Regions from separate parts of the Homo sapiens genome. Here regions 1 and 2 are each linked to region 3. Evidence: promoter capture Hi-C in human tissues and cell types (Jung and others, 2019). All regions are on one chromosome and are shown on one strand. Each heading gives the region's core, a stretch centred on a gene start or on the middle of the fragment in contact. The rest is flanking DNA. Distances are from core to core; before and after follow the strand shown. Region 1 has its middle 98 kb from the start of RBL2. Region 2 overlaps LOC102723373 (a long non-coding RNA gene). Region 3 holds the start of CHD9 (chromodomain helicase DNA binding protein 9).

What was found. The method cuts DNA at HindIII sites, captures the fragments that hold promoters and counts their contacts. A contact is called where the count stands out against the background at its distance.
Region 1: a contact is called between a fragment that was not itself captured here and the fragment with the promoter of CHD9 in region 3, in 4 of the 25 tissues and cell types used here (hippocampus, mesendoderm cells, small bowel and 1 more).
Region 2: a fragment that was not itself captured here is called in contact with the fragment with the promoter of CHD9 in region 3 in 1 of the 25 tissues and cell types used here (thymus).

The regions. Positions count from the first base shown.
Region 1 is chr16:53,334,722-53,338,963 of GRCh38, reverse strand. It overlaps the pseudogene RNA5SP427. Among named protein-coding and RNA genes, the nearest start is that of RBL2, 98 kb to the left of the region's middle. The HindIII fragment of the contact is 8,519 bases long and covers 1-4,242 here.
Region 2 is chr16:53,380,991-53,385,465 of GRCh38, reverse strand. It overlaps LOC102723373 (a long non-coding RNA gene), which reads right to left. Exons shown (of 3, transcript NR_119378.1): 3 at 1,207-1,292. Among named protein-coding and RNA genes, the nearest start is that of RBL2, 51 kb to the left of the region's middle. The HindIII fragment of the contact is 9,705 bases long and covers 1-4,475 here.
Region 3 is chr16:53,052,710-53,056,935 of GRCh38, reverse strand. It overlaps CHD9 (chromodomain helicase DNA binding protein 9), which reads right to left and starts at 1,945. Exons shown (of 39, transcript NM_001308319.2): 1 at 1,859-1,945. It overlaps CHD9NB (CHD9 neighbor), which reads left to right and starts at 4,039. Exons shown (of 3, transcript NM_001396020.1): 1 at 4,039-4,175. RefSeq lists enhancers at 1,558-1,607, 1,120-1,651. The HindIII fragment of the contact is 13,928 bases long and covers 1-4,226 here.

The DNA.
Region 1 (4,242 bases), core at 158-2,657, 280 kb before region 3:
TAGAGAGTAAGGTAGGGGGAGTTTCAAGGAACCGAGGGGGAAAAGTCTGCGTTTCTTCAGTCTCGGATAACATCTTGAATAAGCAGATTGCTGGGTTACAGCAGTTGGTTACAATGTCCTTAAAGGACATTCATTCCTTCTGCAAAATAAAATAAAATAAAAGTTTCAAGTTTAATTTTAGATTCAGGGGTTACATGTGCAGGTTTGTTACATGAGTATATTGCATGATACTGAGGTTTAGGGTATGAATGATCCTGTCATCCAGGTACCGAGCATAGTACTCAATAGTTTTTCAACTCCTGTCTCCTTTCCTCCCTCCCCTGGTAGAAGTCCCCAGAGTCTATTGTTGCCATCTTTATGTTCAAGAGTGCCCAATGTTTAGCTCCCACTTATAATTGAGAACATGCAGTATTTAGTTTTCTCTTTCTGCATTGATTCACTTACCATAATGGCCTCCACCTGCATCCATGTTGCAGTAAAGGACATGATTTTGTTCTTTCTTCTGCAAAGTTTTTTCTTTTTTCTTTTCTTTTTTTCTGGGGAGGACGGAGTCTAGCTCTGTCACCCAAGCTGGGGTGCAATGGTGCGATCTCAGCTCACTGCAACCAGGTTCAGGTGATTCCCCTGCCTCAGCCTCCTGAGTAGCTGGGATTACAGGCACCCACCACCACACCTGGCTAATTTATGTATTTTTAGTAGAGACAGAGTTTCGCCATGTTGGCCAGGCTGGTCTCAAACTCCTGACCTCAGGTGATCTGCCTGCCTCAGTCTCCCAAAGTACTGGGATTACAGGCGTGAGCCACCGCACCTGCCCCTTTCTTCTGAAAATTTTTTTCATGACCCTGAAGTTATCTTCTGCTTGACAAAGAAACAGCACATCAGCAGTTTATATTATAATTATATCATGGGAACAAAGGATGCTGGCTTTTGTGTAAGGAAGCAAGGGCCTATGAGAATTTTCATTATTTCAGTCACTAAAAATGTTGGGGTGCTGAAATTTCAAGGGGCTCTGTTACAACTTTTTTCACTTAGAATAATGTTTTCAAGATTTATCTCTGTTGCAACATATGTCAGTCCCTCCTTCCTTTTTATGGTTAAATATTCCATTGTATGGATAGACCACACATCTCATTTATTCATCTGTTGATGGACATTTGGGTTGTTTCTACTTTTGGGCTATTCTGAATAATACCGCTATAAATATTTGTCTGTAAGTTTTCAGGTGAACATGGTTTCATTTCTTTCAGTACATACTAGGAATAGAATTGCTGAGCCATAGGTAACAACATCATGGTTAATAGTTTGAGGAATTGCAAAACTGTTTTCCAAAGGGAAAACAGTTCCCTTTGTTTCTTTTGTTTCTTTTTTTCTTTTTCTTTTTTTTTTCCTTTAAGTCTACAGCACCCAGTATTTCCAGGCAGTCTTCCATGCAAGTACTAACCAGGCCCCACCCTGCCCAGCTTCTGAGATCAGATGAGATCTGGCATGTTCAGGGTGGTGTAGCCATAGACTGGGGCCATGCCTTTGTACATTCCCTCCTGCAATGTGTGAGAATTGTAATTTGTCCACTTTCTCACTAATACTTTTAGTGTCTCTTTAATTCTGGCCATCCTGAGGGGTGTGAAGTGGTATCTCATTTTAGTTTTGATTTGCATTCACATAATGGCCAATAACGTTGAGGACCTTTTCATGTGTGTATTGGCTATTTGTATATCTTTGGAGAAATGTCTGCTCAAATCCATTGCTCCTTTTAAAATTGAGTTTTTATCTTTATTTTTGAGTTGTAAGAGATCTTTATATGTTCTGGATACAAGTTACTTATCAGATACATGATTTACAAATATTTTCTCCAGTTCTGTGGGTTGTTTGTTCTCTTTCTTTTTACTTACTATTATTTTTGTAGATTTGGAGTCTCTCTCTGTTGCCCAGGCTGGTCTTGAACTTCTGGGCTCAAGCAAATTTTCCTGCCTTGGCCTCCTAAAGTACTGGGATTACAGGAATGTGCCACCACGCTCAGCCTTCTCTTTCTTGAAGGTGTCCTTTGAAGCACTAAATATATTAATTTTGATGTTTATTTTTTCTTTTATTACTTGTGCTTTTAATGTCAAGTCTAAGAAGCTTTTGCATAATTCAAGGTCACAAAGATTATTCTATGCTTTCTTCTAAGAGTATTTATTTATTTATTTATTTATTGTCTTGAGACGGAGTCTCACTCTGTCACCCACGCTGGAGTGCAGTGGCGTGATCTCGGCTCATTGCAAGCTCTACCTCCCGGGTTCACGCCATTCTCCTGCCTCAGCCTCCCGAGTAGCTGGGACTACAGGTGCCTGCCACCACGCCTGGCTAATTTTTTGTATTTTTAGTAGAGACGGGGTTTCACCGTGTTAGCCAGGATGGTCTCGATCTCCTGGCCTCGTGATCCGCCTGCCTCGGCCTCCCAAAGTGCTGGGATTACAGGCATGAGCCACCGTGCTCAGCCTCTTCTAAGAGTTTTATAATTTCATCTCTTACGTTTAGGACTATGATCGATTCTGAGTGCAACTTCATTTTTTTGTGTATGGATATTCAGTTGTTCCAAATATCCTTTCCCCCATTGAATTGTCTTGGCACTCTTTTCAAAGATTAACTGCTCATTCAAACGGTACAAAGTTTCTGTTACACAGGATGAATAAGTTGTCGAGATCAAATGTACAACATAATAACTACAGTTAGTAATACTATATTGAATATTTGAAATTTGTTGAGAGTAAATCTTAAGTGTTAACACACACACACACACGGTAACTATGTTAGATGATGGATATGTTAGCTTGCTTGATTGTGGCAATTATTTCACAGCACATATCAAAACAACATGATCAGCTGGATGTGGTGGTTCATGCCTGTAATCCCAGAGCTTTGGAAGGCTGAGGGAGAGGATTGCTTGAGGCCAGGAGTACAGGACCAGCCTGGGCAACACGGCAAGAACCAAGACCTCATCTCTACTATATATATATATATATATATATATATATACATAAATTAGCCAGGCATGGTGTTGCACGTCTGTAGTCCTAGCTACTTCAGAGGCTGAAGGAGAATTGCTTGAGCCCAGGAATTTGAGTCTGCAGGAATTTGCATTACTGCACTCCAGTCTGGGTGAGAGTGAGTCTCTGTCTCAAAAAAAAAAAAAAAAAAAAAAAAAAAAGAAAAAGCAAAAAAGACACGACATCCACTTTTAAATATATACAATTTTTATTTGTCAATTGTACCTCAGTAAGGCTGGAAGAAAAATCAACCAACCATAAATGTTAAGGGTTTATTTCTAAACTCTTATTTCTGTTCCATTAATCCATTTGTTTATATCAATTCCTACACAATACTGTCTTGATTATTATGTCTTTGTAGTAAGTTTTGAAATCAGGAAGTGTGACTACTCCAACTTTGTTCTTTTAAAAAATTTGTTTTGTCTATTTCTGAGTCCCTTGTATTTCTATATGAACTTTAGGATAAAATGGTCAATTTCTGCAAAGAAGCCACCTGGGAATACAATGGATTTTTGTATATTGCTGTCATATTCTGCAACCTTGCTAAGCTTGTTTATTCATTTTCTAATAATAATATTTTGTTTTTTTAGTACATTCCTTAAGATTTTCTATATACAAGATCATATCATCTGAAACAGAGATATTTTTACTTCCTTTTCCCATCTGCATGTCTTTTTTTCTTTTCCTTGCCTTATTGCCCTGGGCAGAACTTCCAAAATAATGTTGAATAAAGGCTAGCAGGAGTGAATATCTTTGTCTTGTTCTTGACTTAGGAGAAAATAGTCTTTCACCAGTAAGAATGGTAGTAGTTGTGGGTTTTACATAGATGTCTTTTATCAGGTTGAGGAAATTGTCTTCTATCCCTAGTTGTTGAATTTTTTTTTCTATTTTTTAATCATGAAAGGGTACTGGATTTTGTGAAATTATTTTTCTGCATCTGTTGAGGTAAGTAATATCACATTGATTAATTCTCATACATCGATCAACCTTGCATTTCTTGAATAAATCCAGCTTGGTCGTGATGTATAGTCCTTTTCATATGCTGATGGATTCAGTTTGCCAGCATTTTTTTTGAGCCTATACTCAAGGGATGTTGGACAGCAGTTGTTTTGCAATGATTTTGTCTACTTTTGGTATCAGGGTAATATTGACCTCATAAAACAAGTTGGGGAGCACTTCCTGTTTCTTTTTTTAGAGGGGTTTGTGAATAGGTGCT
Region 2 (4,475 bases), core at 425-2,924, 330 kb before region 3:
GAAGTCTCATCTCATGGGAAATAGAAACAAACAAACAAAGAATAACAAAAGTATCTACCCAGAATCAAATGAAAATACAGCATATAAAAATGTGTGGTATACCAATACCCAAGAGCTGTGAGGGAAATTTATAGCACTAAATGCTTATATTAGAAAACATGTTGGATCAATACTTGAAGCTTTCGCATACAGAAAATAAAACAAAAAGAAAAACAAAACCAAAGTATTGGGGGAACCAGCCCCCAATATTTCAATGTAGGTTCTTTTCTATTTTCCCTAAGTGTCGGCCAGTCTGAGAAATAAAGAGAAAGAGTACAAAGAGAGAAATTCTACATCTGGGCCTCCAGGGGTGACATCACATGTCGGCAGGTTCCGTGATGCCCCTTGAGCCGCAAAACCAACAAGTTTTTATTAGGGATTTGAAAAGGGGAAGGGGGTATGAACAGGGAGTAAATCACACAGATCACATGCTTCAAGAGGCAATAAAAGATTACAAGCGCAGAAGGGCAGAGCGAGATCACAGGGCCAGGGTGAAATTAGAATTACTGATGAGGTTCCATGTCCCACTGGGCACGCATTGTCTTGATAAACATCTTAGCAGGAAATAGGGTTCGAGAGCAGACAACTGGTCTGATTAGAATTCGCCAGGCTGGAATTTCCTAATCCTAGCAAGCCTGAGGGCGCTGCAGGAGACCAGGGTGTATTTCATCCCTTATCTTCAACCACATAAGACAGACACTCCCAGAGCAGCCATTTTAGAGACCTCCCCCTGGGAATGCTTTCCTTTCCCAGGGCTATTCCTTGCTGAGAAAAGAATTCGCAATATTTCTCCTATTCGCTTTCTGTAAGAAGAGAAATACGACTCTGTTCTGCCCGGTCCTGCAGGCAGTCAGACCTTATGGTTATCTCCCTTGTTCTCTGAAAATCACTGTTATCCTGTTCCTTTCAAGGTGCCCAGATTTCATATTGTTCAAACACACACGCTTTACAAACAACTTGTGCAGATAATGCAATCATCACAGGGTCCTGAGGCGACATACATCCTCAGTTTAGGAAGATGATGGGATTAAGAGATTAAAGACAGGCATAGGAAATTATAAGAGTATTGATTGGGGAAGTGATAAATGTCCATGAAATCTTCACAATTTATGTTCAGAGATTGCAGTAAAGACAGGCATAAGAAATTATAAAAGTATTAATTTGGGGAACTAATAAATGTCCATGAAATCTTCACAATTTATGTTCTTCTGCTGTGACTTCAGCTGGTCCCTCTGTTCAGGGTCCCTGACTTCCTGCAACACCAAAGCAAGCAAAAAATAATACAAATGAGATCATGAAATTGAAAACAGAAAAATAGAGAAAAATGAAACAAAAAGCATTTTTTAAAAGACCAGTAAAACTGATTAACCTCTAATATGACTAATAGAAATAATAAGAGAGAAGACACAAATCACCAACATTAGGAATGCACCAGGGGATATAATCCCAGATCCTGAAGATATAAAAATTATATTAAGGAAATATTACAAATAATTCTCCAGATATAATAAACCTGACAAGTAAGATGAAATGGCTAATTTCAAAAAAACACAAATAACCACAACATCTATTATTAGGAAATAAACAACTTAAATAGCACTACTCAAATAATTATTAAGAAAATCAAGGCCAGGCGCAGTGGCTCATGCCTGTAATCCCAGCACTTTGAGAGGCTGAGGTGAGAGGGTTGTTTGAGCCCAGGAGTTTGAGGCTGCCATGAGCTATAATCACACCATTGCACTGCAGCCTAGGCCACAGAGCAAGACCCTGTTTCTAAAAAACACACCAGGCCAGGTGCGGTGGCTCACGCCTGTAATCCCAGCACTTTAGGAGGCCGAGGCAGGTGGATCACTTGAGGTCAGGAGTTCTTGACCCACCTGGCCAATATGGGGAAATCCCATCTCTATGAAAAATACAAAAATTAGCTGGGCGTGGTGACACATGCCTGTAGTCCCAGCTACTGGGGAGGCTGAGGCAGGAGAATCACTTGAACCTGGGAGGCAGAGGTTGCAGTGAGCTGAGATCGTGCCACTGCACTCCAGCCTGGGTGACAGAGTGAGACTCCATCTCAAAAAAATAAAAAATAAAATAAAAAAGCAGATCAAATTCTTAATTCAAAAAGTCCCAAAAGGAAATCTCCAGTCACAGACATATTTACTGCCAAACCCTACCAAATGCTTAAAGAACTAATGCCAATTCTACACAATGCCTTCCTGGAAATAGAAAAGGAGACTGCTTCCCATGTATTTAATGAGGCCAGCAACCTTAATACCAAAATTAAGTGAAGACCAGAAAAAAAAAACAAAAAACCCCCACAAAGCTACAGACCAATATCTCTCTATATTTAGATGCAAAATCTCTTAGCAAAATGCAAGCAAATATATATTGTTCAACACTGTATAAAAGAATCGAATGGCATGACCAAGGGGGATCCCTTCCATAGATTCAAAGCTGGTTCAATATTTTAAAAATCAATGTAATTAACTATACAAACATGTCAAAAAAGAAAAATCACATGATCATACTCATTGACGTAGAGAAAGCATTCAATAAAACTCAATACTTATTCATGATAAAAACACTCAGAAAATTATCAACAGTGTAGAACTTCCACAACTTGATAAAGAACATCTACTCCAAACCTACAGGTAACATAATATTTAAAGAAAGAATGTATGCCTTTCCCCTAAGGTAAGGAAAACACAAGGATGTCCACCTTTCACCACTATTATTCAATATGGTACTGGAATTTCTAGCAAGCATGGTAAGTCGAGAAAAAACATATAGATTATAAAGGAAGATGTAAAACTGTCCCTATTTGGAAATAATATAAGGAACTATGGGGAAAATCCCAAAGGATCTTCAAAATAATTCCTTCAACTAATAAGTGATTTCACCAATACGAGCATACAAGATCAACATGGAAATAAACTCAGATTCGAGAAATCAATTAGAGGCATATATGAATTGAGAAATACAACATAAGGCCGGGCGTGGTGGCTCATGCCTGTAATCCCAGAACTTTGGGAAGCCAAGGCAGGCAGATCACGAGGTCAGGAGATGGAGACCATCCTGGCTAACACTGTGAAACCCCATCTCTAATAAAAATACAAAAAGTAAGCCAGGCGTGGTGGTGGGCACCTGTAGTCCCAGCTACATGGGAGGCTGAGGCCGGAGAATGGCGTGAACCCAGGAGGTGGAGTTTGCAGTGAGCCGAGATCAAGCCACTGCACTCTAGCCTGGGCAACAGAGCAAGACTCCATCTCAAAAAAAAAAAAAAAAAAAGAGAGAAGAAAAGAAAAGAAAAATATAACATAAAGCAATTCCTTTTTGCAAGTGATGTGACAGCATATCTAGAAGCCCTAACAATCAAAAGATAAAACTAGCTCAAACAATAAATTCAGTAAGGTAAAATGATATAGAGTTAACCAACAAAAATCAAGAGTCTTCAAACATATAATTAATAAGTTAGAAAAAATAACACTACAAAAAAATCCCATTACAGTAGCAAAAAATAATTTAGGAAAAATGTTAATTAGAAATGCACAAAAACTATATGATGAAAACTTAAACACACTTCTGAAAGGTACAGAAGCAGAAAGGCACACATTGAATAATATGAAAATACATATGGACAACATGCAATGTGTTTAGAATTTCAGAATATTGAAAATAACCTAAATGCTCTTCTATAGAATGGCTGAATAAGGTATGGTACATACTTGTTATGGGTAGACTGTGTCTTCCAAAAGGATGTTGAAGTCCTACACCCAGTACCTGTAAATGTGACCTTGTTTGGAAACAAGGTCTTTGCAGATGGTTAAGTTAAGATGAAGTGATCAGGGAGAGCCCTAATCCAGTATGACTGGTATCTTTATAAGAAAGGGAAAACTGGGCACACAGACAGCCATGCACACAGAAAAAAATGTCACGTGAAGATAAAGGCAAAGACTGGAGTGATGTGTCTACAACCCAAAGAATGGTACTGTCAGCAAACTACCATAAGCTAGGACAGAGGCACAGAACACATTCTCTCTCAGAAGGACCTCAGAAGGAACCAACCCTGCTAACACCCTGGTCTCAGACTTCTAGCTCCAGAATTATGAGAGAATAAATTTCTGCTAAGCAACCCGGTTTGTGGTACTTAATTATGGCAGCCCTAGCAAACTAATATCATAATCAGTGCATACTATGATACTATAAAAATGAATAAGCAAAGAAAATTTCATGGAATTGATATGCAGTGATTTCTAGGATATGGTTAGGTGAAATAAGTAAAATGCCAAAAAAAAAAAATACAGTATGTTACCTGTTGTATGAAACAAAGAAGCAATAACAAAATTTACATGTATTAGCTAATTTTTGCAAGGAAAAATAAAAAAATGAAACTGAATCTAATGAAACTAATTACCTATAGGAGCAGATTGGATGTTGAA
Region 3 (4,226 bases), core at 696-3,195:
CCTCAAGCGATCCTCCTGCCTCAGCCTCTCAAAGTGCTGGGATTACAGGGAAGAATTTGCAAATTTAGAACTTGTGAATAATGAGAATCTACTGCACTTTCTTCCTGTTTCTCTCATTCGGGGCTGGCTGAATTCTGTCTTACTCATATTTTATCTCTAGCATCTGGAAAACTGCCTGGCCCACAGTAGGCTCTCAATAATAAATGTATTTCCAATGAGCGAATGAGTCAATTCAGTGGAAGTGCTCAGCTCACAGCAGTGATAGCTAGTGTTTGTGAAGACACACCACGCGCCTGCCCCGTGCACGCTGTCCTGGTCAACAAGGGAAACAGCAGAGTATTGTTCTTTTGCACCTGAGCTCAAGAGCAGACTGCCTGGGTTCAAATATGGGACATGCTTCTTATTAATTAATTATATAACTTCGAGCAAGATCATTGGCCTCTCTGAGCCTCAGTTTCCTTGGCTATCAAATGCAGTATTCATAGTTCTACCGTGGAAGTTATGGTCAGGAGTCTAACTTGGCCCTGCACAGAAAGCCTCTAGCATAGGGTGAACCCTTAGTAAACAGTAGCTTTTATTGTGAATAATTCCCAAGGCAACCCGATTTTCACACCCATTTTGCAGATACAAAAACTGAAGCTGAGGATGGTTCAGTGAGTTTCCAAGGTCACAAAGGAAGGGCTGCCTATGGGGGGGAATCTATGCCCATGTTAGTAACACTGCTGTTATATAAACATAAGGGGTCAGCGGGGCGCAGCGGCTCATGCCTATAATCCCAGCACTTTGGGAGGCCGAGGCTGGAGAATGGCTTGAGCCTAGGAGTTTGAGACCATCCTGGGGAATATAGTGAGGCCCTATCTCTATAAAACAAACAAACATAAGGGCTCATTTTTACTAGTTGTAAAAGGGCCCTTTTACTAGTTGTAAAAAAGGCTCGTTATAAGGCCTCTCACTGCCTAATCAGCTAGGTTTGCCAAAATGAGGAAGACAGCTCCAGCCAGTCTCCTGATCTTCTCTGGGATCAGGGTGGGGAGGAACCCCCTTCCTACCCATAAACCCCTAAGAGTCTTCGCTCACATTCCACACTGGTGTCTTTCTGTTCCTTGTCCACTTTCGAGTTCAACCCTTTCAGAACCAGCCCTACTGTGGGGGGTGGGGGATGGTTAGTTTGTTATCTTGGGTTTGACAGTACAAAGGCAGAGGCATTTCCTGCTTAAAAGGCACATGAGAAAGGAGGAGGAGGGCGAACTGGAGGAATAGGAGGAGGAGGGAATCATCAGCATTCTGGGTTAGAACAAACAAATGTCCTCCGTTTTTCTCCAACTCCTTAGATCAAGGGTCCTCAAATTTGGCTGCCAGCTGGAATCTCTTGCAAACATTTTAATACCCAGATGTCCAGTCCCCCACCCAGACCAATCACATCTGAGTCTCTGGGGGGGGGCGGGGGTGGAACTAGGGCATCGGTATTTTTTTAATGCTTCCCAAGCAACGCCAACGGGCAGACAAGTTTAAGAAGTGGTGCTCTGGACCTTATCAGCACTCGGCTGCCACCCTGGAGTGGCTCTGGGCGACAGTGGCTGCTTTCCGCTTCGAGGACGCCCGGCTTGGGGATTCGGGCATGCTCTGGGAGGCGAGGGCTGGGGAGGATGCGAGCGTGCCAGCGACCTGGTGCTCTGCCTTGCTCTAGGCCCAGCTCCGAGGCTGCGGGTCTCTGGGTCCCCCCCACGGCTACAACACGTGCTGCCGCCCCGACTCCTCCGGTTATCTCTGCAGACCGCAAGCGGTGCCCAGCGGCCGCCCCGCTGTCCACCCCGACCTCAGAGGCTCCAGGGAGACGCCCGGGGCTCAGGAATCCTACCTTGGCTGCCGGCGCTGCCCTCCAGTCCCCGGAATCCTGGGACTCAGGTTCGAGCTGTCGCTGTCGCTGTCGCTGCGCCTGTGAAGCGCCCACTAGAGCGCAGGCGCCACCTAGTGGGCGCGGGGCGGCTGCGCAGGGACCGCGCTGGCAGGCGGGAGCGCAGTCCAGGGCGGAAATGCAGCCAGGGCTTCTTCCCACGTGGGCGGTTTTCCAGCGCGCCGCCAGCCCTGTGGCCAGATCCGGCCTGGGGCGGGACCACCTTCACCCGCTGCGGGGCACTGGGATCTAAACTTGGTGAACTTTCTCTTGGGGCACGGAGGGACCCCTCGGCCTGGTATCCATCCTCCGGTTTTCCGGGCTGAGCACAAGGATCTTTCCCTTCATCCAGCAGCTTTCAGTGCACCCCACCTTTGGCACTGCTTCTCTTTTAAATGTGCTGGGACCATCCGAGGCTGGGGTTCTCTCCAACCCAGGGAGGCCCTTCGCCTATCAGCAACCATTTTTTCCTGCCACCCCCTAAACCGTCCCTGAATGAGAGAAACAGCCTGCTCTGCTGGCTTGCTCTACAGAGGCCAGGACTGGTGGAGGATGGGTGTGTGCCAGCGACCTCGTGCTCTGCTCTGCTGGAAGGCCTTCTCTGAGCAGTGGAAGGGGAAGGGGCGGCTTAAGGGAATTGTGTTTTTTGTTTTTTGTTTTGTTTTGTTTTGTTTTTGTAGAGACAAGGTCTCTCTATGTTGCCCTGGTGGCTCTTGAACTCCTGGTCTCAAGCGATCCTCTCACCTGCAGCCTCCCAAAGCACTGGGATTACCGGAGTAAACTATGGCTCCCAGCTGCCTGGTATTCTTTCAATGAAGACATGCCAAAACGCTTACAAATATGGTGGACATTTAATGGTTTATATTTCATTTATGTCTTCATTTAACAACGATTAACTGAGCACCTACTATGTGCCACTTTTCTACAATCAAGGGATACAATGAAGAACAAAACACAAAAATCTCTGCTTTTGTTGAATTCACATTTAATGTAACACATGAATACTTTTAACACACCCAACGATCTAATGCAAAGCGATTGAGCTCGTTGTGAGATAAGTAGAGGATTTATTAAAAATATCTATATTTAGGGCCAGGCACCGTAGCTCACGCCTGTAATCCCAGCACTTTGGAAGGCTGAGGCAAGAGGATCGCTTGAGGTCAGGAGTTTGAGACCAGCCTAGCCAACATGGCAAAACCCAGTCTCTACAAAAAATACAAAAATTAGCCGGGCGTGGTGGCAGGAGCCTGTAATCCCAACTACTCCAAGGCTGAGGTGGGAGAATCCCTTGAACCCGGAAGGAGGAGGTTGCAGTGAGCTGAGATCGCACCACTGCACTCCAGCCTGGGTGACAGAGTGAGACTCTGCCTCAAAATCAATCAATCAATCAATCAATCAATCTATGTTTAGGGCGCCAAGGGCAGACATTCCTGGTGATGGATATAAGCATTACAGAGTTCTATGGGAACGTCTTCACGTTTTCTTGTAATCCTGGCAGTTTATCTCTGTGGCAACATTTGGAGATAATGCCTTCAGTGGAAATTTCAGGTGATTTGTGAAAGTTAGGCCTGCAATCCTCCTTTCCCCCTCCCCCCGGCCCCCACTCTGCTCCCCCAGGACGCTCTGTCATTGTTCTAGCCCAGTGTGAGTTTGTGTGTGAGTGTGTGCCTATTTAACCTTTGGACTCTCTGTACTGGTGTAATCTGGTCAAAGTGAATATCAAGGGCAGAGGAGGACAAGGAGGAGCAGGAGGAGAAGGAGGATGAGGAGCAGGAGGAGGAGCAGGAGGAGGAGGAGCAGGAGAAAGGAGGAGAAGCAGGAGCAGGAGGAAGAGGAGCAGGAGAAGAAGGAGCAGAAGGAGGAGGAGCAGGAGGAGGAGAAGGAGGAGGAGCAGGTGGAGGAGGAGGAGCAGGAGGAGGAGAAGCAGGAGGAGCAGAAGGAGAGGAGGAGCAGGAAGAGGAGGAGAAAGAGCAGGAGGAAGAAGAGGAGGAGAAGCAGGAGGAGGAGGAGGAAGAGCAGGAGGAGGAGGAAGAGCAGGAGGAGGAGCAGGAGGAGGAGGAGAAGGAGCAGGAGGAAGAGGAGGAGAAGCAGGAGCAGGGGGAGGAGGAGGAGGCAGAGCAGGAGGAGGAGCAGGAGGAGGAGGAGGAGGTGTCATCTGTGGACAATACCTGGAAGGGCAAGGGGTGGTGGGTGTCACTAAAAGGAACCAGCCCCAGCTACTTCACTGCAGGCTGGTGCCCTGGTGAAGGTGAATCAGTCAGAGGAGTGCTGACTGCCCATGGTAAGTACCAGCTGCCAGACAATTTCCCATTCTTTCACTTTAAAGTGTCTG